Linked DNA regions of Homo sapiens: region 2 is linked to region 1. Evidence: promoter capture Hi-C in human tissues and cell types (Jung and others, 2019). All regions are on one chromosome and are shown on one strand. Each heading gives the region's core, a stretch centred on a gene start or on the middle of the fragment in contact. The rest is flanking DNA. Distances are from core to core; before and after follow the strand shown. Region 1 holds the start of BMP7 (bone morphogenetic protein 7). Region 2 has its middle 210 kb from the start of BMP7-AS1.

Region 1 (3,781 bases), core at 283-2,782:
TAGCAATGGCACCGTTTCTTCCCCAGCTCCAGCCAAGAGAGAATGGGGCATCCGGCGGCCCGGAGAGGGGCCCCAAGGCGCTCGGAGCGCGCGGTACGCTAAGGCGGGCGCACCACGAGGGGACAGGTAGGGCTTGACAGGGAGGGTAAGGGGGTGCGACGGCCGCGATGCCAGAGCCAGGCAGGGCTGAGAGGGGCCCAGGAAGGGCGGCAAGGCAGCCTCGCCGGGAAGGGCCCTTTACATCCAGGTAGCGCGAGCCGCGCCGGCCCGGGACAGCTCACATGACCGAGCCCCGCGCTTTGAACGGCCCTTGCCTCCAGCCCCAGAGATGCGGCCGGCGGCGTAACATGGAGGGGACTTCGGAGGATCCCTCCTTCCCAGTAACCCCTACAGGCTCACCGAACCCAGCGCGCCCGACCTGGGGGCGCACACAGCTTGGGAGTCATAGGGCTGTGGGTGGGAGACCCTCGGGCAGGCACTGCGATTTCAGCCAGGAGCGGAAAGCTGGGCGGGCTGCATAGAAGAAGCGGCTCCCTCCCTCCCAGTCTCAAAGTGCCCCCGAAAGGAGACGCGTACCCTCGCCTGCCCTTACTCACCGAGGTTGACGAAGCTCATGACCATGTCGGCGTCGGTGAGGAAATGGCTATCTTGCAGGCTGGCCAGAGGGGGGCCCTGGGTACTGAAGACGGCCTTGTAGGGGTAGGAGAAGCCCTGGCCGCCGGGCCCGCCGCCCTCCTCCACCGCCATGGCGTTGTACAGGTCCAGCATGAACATGGGTGCCGAGTTGTGCTTGCCCTGGAGGTGCGGGCGCGGGCGGTGGGGCAAGCCCAAAATGGAGAGGATCTCGCGCTGCATCTCCCGCCGCTCCTGGCTGCGGAGGCGCCGGTGGATGAAGCTCGAGTGCACCTCGTTGTCCAGGCTGAAGTCGGCCAGGGCGGAGCGCAGCAGGAACAGGGGTGCCCAGAGCGCCACGAAGCTGTGCGGCGCCGCAGCTCGCAGTGAGCGCACGTGCATCGCGCCGGCTCTACGCGCTACCCGGGCTCCGGGCTCCGGGCCCGCACCGCCCCAGGTGGCAGAGGGGGCAGGCGGCCGTCCGCGCCGCTCGGTCACTTGCTGCAGACGGGCCCCGCTGCGCCCGCGCCAGACATGGCCCCTCCCCGGCCGGCCGCGCTCTGCCCGGACCCCCGCCCCCTGCTCGGTGCTGGCCCCGGGCCCCTCGCCCCGCACTCGCCCGGGCGCACCGCAGGGCTTGGAAAGCAGCCCCGGCGAACGAAAAGGCGAGTGAGGAGGCGGGCGCGGGTGGGAGGAGCAGCCAGCAAGCCTAGGAGTCCAGAGAGCCAACGCCGGGGAGGCAGCGAGGAGGCAGGCGGGCGGGCGAGCGCTCCTTCTTCCCGCTCCTCTGGCGCTCTCGCCCTCGGGCGGCGGCAACCCACCCTCTTCCAACCTCCGGCGCGGATAGCAGGGGCCCCGGGGCGCTCTCCCAGCCTTGTGCGCCCTGGATCGCACAAGAGGCCGCCTCGGGAGCGCCAGAGTGGTACGCGCTGGGGCCTGGGCGGAGGAGGAGGAGGAGGAGGACGGGCTTCGAGGGGCCCCTCCCGCGCCGGCGGCCTCCCACCTGCCCTCGGCCCCGCCCTCCCCCCAGCTGTGCCCAGTGGGTTCATTCATTCCCTCTAGAGCGCTCGACAAATGTTTACTGAGTGCCCACGGGGTGCCTAGAGCCTGGCGGGACGTCGCGGGGATGCGGCTGGAGGAATCGGAGCCGGCCCTGCCCTCTCGGCACTCGCGGTCCGGACCAGGAAGGCGGCCCGAGCAGGACGGGTGGGCTGCGGACCGCGGTGGGAAAAGTTGGGGGAGCGCGGAGGTGGCGCGGAAATAGAAGGCTTCCTGGAAGCGGTGACCCTTGAGCCGGTCTTGCCCCTCAGTCCCTGTATCCTTTTAAGCCAGCCACGCTGACCCCTCCGCGCCTCCCTGAAGCCGTTGCCAGCCTGTCTCTGCGCTCGCCATTCCCTCCGCCTGGACCTCTCCCCACTCACCACCTCCCGCCCCCATCAGACGCTGCTTTCTCCTCCCAGAGACCTCCAAGACCTGCCAAGCTGAGGTTGTTTCCTCGCCTCGCCCCTCGCACGTTTGTTTTCTTTCCTGTAGTTTCTCTTGCTGTCTGGAATTGCTGTTTGAGTTACTCCGTGCCTTCTTTATTGCCTTCTTACCCCCGCTAGACACCCAGAGCACTGGGGCCCGGATCAGCGATCTTCTCCGCACCTCTGGTACCCGCAGTGCCTTGAACCCAGCGCCTGGTAGCCACTGTAGCTGCGCAGTCACGATTTGTTGAGTGAATAAGTGAACTGCGTGTGAGCTGGGGGGGTTCTTCCCACCTCCTCCTCTTCGGGGCCCTGTATCTTTCCAGCCACCCCTCAGCCTGAGACCAGACACCCCAGCCCCACCACTAGGGCTTCCCATCAGCCCTCCTCGTGGCAGTGCCTGGGGAGCCAGCCGCTGGTCTTCACATCCTCTTCCCCTCCAAGGGTCTGTGCCTGAGACCTCCCCATCGGCCTCCTCTCCTGTCTCTCCTCATCCATTCATCCCTCAATCAATACCGAGCCATGCACGCTGTCACAGGGAGTCCCCAGACCACTCAGAACCCACCGGTCCCTCTGCCGGTGTGGGATCTCAAGGGAATTACTGCACCCAGAGTGGCAGTGAGGGCAGCGGGGTAAAAGTTCATCCTGTCTCCTTCCCCTCCTGGGGCTGGGTGAGAGAGTGGGTCCCCAGAGGGCCTTTGGGATGAACTGGGAAGGGCTGAGGTTGGGGAAGCGGGGGCGCTTGTCTGGGAGGGGCTCTGGCTAAGCCTCACTTTGGGGCTGTCCTTCCTGGAGCAGGAGAGCTGGGGAAGAGAATTATGGTCTTCTACAGTTTTCTGGAGCAGAAGTAGTTTGGCCAAGTGGCCCTCTGGGTCTCCCTTGGGGACTTTTGGACTAGATGGCAGCCTGAGGGGCCACATGGGTGGAGAAAGGGGAGGCCAGAGGCCAGGCAAGGAGCAGAAAAATGCCAGCCTGCAGGTCCTGGCCATTTACACACAGGCCCCAGGCTGTGGGATGGAACAGGTCTTGAGCCCCATGCCAGGGAGGGGCCTCTACCCACCCACCAGGCAAGGCCCTCAAACCACCCCCACCACCTGCTCTTCATCCATTCACTCCTTCCTTCAACAGACAAGCATGGAGCACAGGATATCAGGAGGCGAGCTGTGGGGCCTGCAACCTGGACAGTCGTACAGGGCCCCCCAGCTCTTAAGGGCCCCACACTTGGTTTCCTACTCTGAGGTCACCATATGTGGTTCTGAATCACCTATGAACAAAGTACCCCCTGCCCCGTACTAATTTTGCACCTGGCCCAGATATTATGTGGCCAGTCCCAGGGCCAAGCACCATGCTGGGCAGGAAGACATGGCCATGAGCGAACCCACATGGCAGACTCCATCAAGGAGCCGGCCTCCAGGCCAGGGAAGCAAAGCAAGAGCCTTAAATAAGATTCAGGGACTGAAGGAGAGGCAGATCTTGTCTATCACTCTCTCTGGAAACAATTCAGAAGCCAGGCAGAGGAGGACATGCAGGAGGGAGAAGGAAAGGTGGGCATCCTGGCAAGCAGGAATCCTACCCCAGGGAGACTGGGGAAATTGCAGGAGTGCCACAGTCGTCCAGGGTCCATCTGAGAGTGTACAACTGGAGAGCCTGGGTCACTTCAGCCTGCAATAAGTGACAGGCAGTGGGGGCGGGGGCGCAGATAA
Region 2 (4,177 bases), core at 494-2,993, 270 kb before region 1:
CACACAGCCAATAAGGTTCAAAGGTGAGATTAGAACACAAGTCTGTCCACTCCAAATGGCTGTGGGAGTTAAAATAGATATTCAAAGGTGGCCACATGGTGGGGGGCATTGAGATCTAAGGGACAAAAATGATGAGTTCTTCAGTTTAAGATGAGTTACTCAGGTCGCAATGAACGTGAAGATGGAAGTGGCCATTGTGTCCCTTTAGAAGCCTGGGAGTATGGATCAGGAGGCTGCCTGGGAGGTGATATTGCAGCTGCTACAACCTCAGAGAACTGGGAAAACTTGGGGTGCAGGCCAGAGGGAGCGCAGACTGAGGAGCTGAGCTAGTCTCAGGCTGGCAGCCACTTGGGGCCTCCGCAGGCAGGAGAGCAAAAGTGGGAGACCAAGAAGTGGGGCATGAAGCTGAAGAAAGAGGAAGGCTCTGTGAGGGTCCCAAAGGGCCTTGTCAGTGATGCCACAGAGTTTAGCCTTTATCCTGAAAGCCACGGGAAGTCTTGCAAGGAGATTAAGCAGCAAGAGGATCAGGTTGGCATTTAGAAAAATCACTCTCTGGCTGGGAGCAGTGGCTCACAACTGTGATCCCGGCAATTTGAGAGGCCAAGGCAGGAGGATCGCTTGAGCCCAGGAGTTTGAGACCATCCTGGGTAACATAGTGAGACCCGCTCTCCACAAAAAAAAAACAAAAATTAGCCAAGTGGGGTGGCAGCATATGTCTGTAGTCTCAGCTACTTGAGAGGCTGAGGTGGGAGGATCACCTGAGCCCAGGAGGTGGACATTGCAGTGAGCCAAGATTGTGCCAGTGTACTCCAACCTGGACAATAGAGCAAGACCCTGTCTCAAAAAAAAAAAAAGTAGAAAAATCACTCTGGAACCTATCACGTAACCAAAAGCCACCTGTACCCCAAAAACTATTGAAAAAATAATAATTTAAAAAAAGAAAAATCACCCTGTTTGCAGCGTGGAAAATGGATTCAGCTGCCTCCATCTAGTTCTCCAGCCTGTCTTTTAAATATTTTTCACCACAATTAATATACATTCACTGTAACAAATATAAATGGGACAGGAATATGTAACATAAAAAACTCTCACCCTCCAATTCTAATCTTCAAAAGTAATCACTATACTATAAAGCAGTTTTGACACACACAGTTTCAGATTTTCAGCTACACATATAGACGACATGGATACAAATATAAAATTGTCACCTAGCAACTGTTGGGAGAGCCTATCATTTCGGGTGACACCCAGGGTGATGTTTCCCAAATTGCACACCAACCCACTCTGGTGACAACGGGGCCCAGACCAGTTGTTCTTAACCAGGCAATCCAGGGGCATTTGGCAATACCTGGACACATTTTCGTTGTCACAATGCAGGTGCTTGGCAGGAGCTACTGGCATCTAGTGGATCAAGGGTGCTCTGTGAACATCTTATGTATTATAGGATCCCCACAACCAAGTGTCTTCTGGCCCAGATGGCAATAGTGCCAAGGCTGATAAACCCTTGGGATCTTTGAGGGAATTCCATACTGGTGAGATTTGCTAGTTGCAAGGAACAGAAATGCAATTTATTTTTATGGTATCAGGCAGCTCCTGAAATTATCTAGAGGCTGCAGAGCCAGGTTCATGCAGCCAGGGACAATGCCCTTCATCCTGATGTGGAACTGGTCAGGTGATGGCATGGTGCACCGCTGCACCTGCTGAGCACAGATGCTGCACTTTGCCCCAGACTGTTCTCTGGACTCTGCTTCTGGAACCCATTGTAGCCATTGCAGCTGCCACCTCCCCACAGCTTCATCGGTGCTGCCCGGAGCTGCAGCTTTGCACTGGCAGCTTTCACTATGTGTTTGGGATGGGTGCTTCTGATTGGCTGAGTCTAGGTCATGTGTTCATGTCCTAGCTGCAAGGGAGTCTAGTAAAATAAGTTTGCCTCATGTTGAGCTCCTATAGGGAATGGCTCTTTGCCTTATAACGCAGAGAACTCCTCAGACATGGGATGGAGGTTTGGAGGAACCTGACAAAGGGCCAGTCTATCCAGAGACAGGATGTTCAGTAACAGTACCTCAAGCCACACTGAATTTTACTGTGAACCATGTATTGTTTCTCTCCTGTTCAGGTCACTTTCTACCTCCTAGGTAATCTGTCTCTGACTCTTGCTCATCTCTCCTGGTAGCAGAGACAGGCAGGTGTCAGGCTTGGGTCTAGGGTCAGCCACATATCTAGTTAAATACATAATAACTTGTTTTCATGATTTTTCCTCTAATAATCATTTTTAGGCTTTGTTTTCTCCTGAACTGTTCTTTCTTATGAGATCTTAATGCCATGGATATATTGCATATCTCTTTAGGTTGTCTGTTTATCTGTGTTTTATCAATAAAAAGTGTAAGACTTTCTTATCCACTCTCCCTCATCCTCCCCAAACAATATTTGCCCTCCTTGGGGCAATTTTGCCCTGCTGAGACTGCATGGAGAGACAGACCTTATGTTTAGAGTGTCTCCAACTAGCCTAACATCAGACTTAACAGAGGAACCCTCCTAAAAATACAAATCCCTGGCCTTGATCCAGACCTATTGATTCAGAAATATCAAGAGAACAACTTGGGAATCTGCATTTTTAACAAGGGCCTCAGGGGATTCTTATGATCAGATAAGTTTTAGAAATGATCATGTGGGCCAGGAGAGGTGGCTCATGCCTGTAATCCCCGCAATTTGAGAGGCTGAGGTGGAAGGATCCCTTGAGGCCAGAAGTTCAAGATCAGACTGGACAACATAGTAATACCTCATCTCTAAAACAACGAAAATAAATTAGTGGGGAGTGGTGGTGTGCACCTATAGTCCCAGCAACTCAAAAGACTGAGTCAGGAGGATCGCTTGAGCGAAGGAGTTGGAGGCTTCAGTGACCTGTGATTGCACCACTGCACTCCATCGTGGTGACAGAGCGAGACCCTGCTTCAGTGGTGGCTCAAAACCGTGGCTGCGGACTGGAATCACCCAGGAAATTTAAAATTCGATCCATGTTCTGTCCCCTCCCACAGAGATCCTCAATGAATCAGCGAGGGCATGATGACCCTAATAGGCGGTCAGGTGGTTAAGGCTCGGATAGGCTGAGTGGGTCGGGATACTGGCGTTGCAGCTCACCAGCTGGGTGTCCTTGGGGAGGTAGCTTGCAGTCTCTGAGCTTCAACTCCTTGGGCCTGGAAGATGAGGTCTGGTGAGCATCAGTGAGGGGGTGGACATTTCGTGGTCCACACATAGTAGGTTCGAAATAAATGGGAGCTCCTTGGCTATTACAATTCAGAGGCTGAACATTCCAGATCTGTGTTTGCACCTGTCTTGATCTGTCGCCTGTTGGTCTTGTTAAAATGTGGATTCTGATTCAGCAGATCTGGGTGAGACCCAAGATTCTGCATTTCTAACAAGTTCCAGGAAACATCAATGTTGCCAGTCTGAAGAGCAAGATGCTACCTAGACCAGGGTTTCTTCACCTTGGCATTTGTGGCATTGTGGCCTGGATACTTCTTTTGTGGGGCTGTCCTGCACAGTGTAGGGTGTCGAGCAGCATCCCTGGCCTCTACTCACTGGAGGCCAGGAACACTCCCATCCCCAGTCCTAACAACCAAAGATGTCTGCAGCCATCGCAAAATGTCCCCTGAAGGGACCAAATTGCCCGCAGTTGAGAAACACCAGCCCAGGACAGTGAGATGATAGTGAAAAGAGGAAGAAATAACTAGTGACCCAAGTCAGCTGCCTCTGTGCGACCTGAAGCCCAGAGGGTTGGGACGTGTGTGTTGCTGGATGACGACATGAACGGAATGAATGAGCCGATGTAGAACGCCTGGGAGACAGAGGAGCCCCTCATGTGGAACCTGATTGCTGCAGATCTTGGAGTTTGGTCTCCCCTGGCTGCAAGAGAAGAGTGTAGACGAAACACAACCAAAGTGACTCACTCTGGAGAACAAACCAGACCATTCACAAGCAGAAACCAGCGCAGGTTCAGTTATGTTTGGTATACCCAGGAGAGAAGGGAGGCAGTGTCCCAATTCATGTACAGACACGATGTGGGTAAGTTTACCGTTGTGTACGTTGAGGTTGCCTTTGAAGGGAAGCAACCCAAGACGGTAACACCAAACAAACACGCCTCTGAACCAAGGCCCCGGAACTGCCAATCTAAACCTCA

Evidence for each region. Contacts are between HindIII fragments. The study calls those that stand out against the background at their distance.
Region 2: a contact is called between a fragment that was not itself captured here and the fragment with the promoter of BMP7 in region 1, in 1 of the 25 tissues and cell types used here (mesendoderm cells).

Annotation. Positions count from the first base shown.
Region 1 is chr20:57,265,109-57,268,889 of GRCh38, forward strand. BMP7 (bone morphogenetic protein 7) reads right to left here and starts at 1,533. Exons shown (of 7, transcript NM_001719.3): 1 at 597-1,533. The coding sequence starts at 1,014. LOC112268270 (translation initiation factor IF-2-like) reads left to right here and starts at 1,332. Exons shown (of 2, transcript NR_171651.1): 1 at 1,332-1,534; 2 at 1,675-2,179. RefSeq lists a promoter at 1,021-3,781 and a cis regulatory region at 1,640-1,732. The HindIII fragment of the contact is 13,311 bases long and covers 1-3,781 here.
Region 2 is chr20:56,996,735-57,000,911 of GRCh38, forward strand. No RefSeq gene overlaps it. Among named protein-coding and RNA genes, the nearest start is that of BMP7-AS1, 210 kb to the right of the region's middle. The HindIII fragment of the contact is 6,874 bases long and covers 1-4,177 here.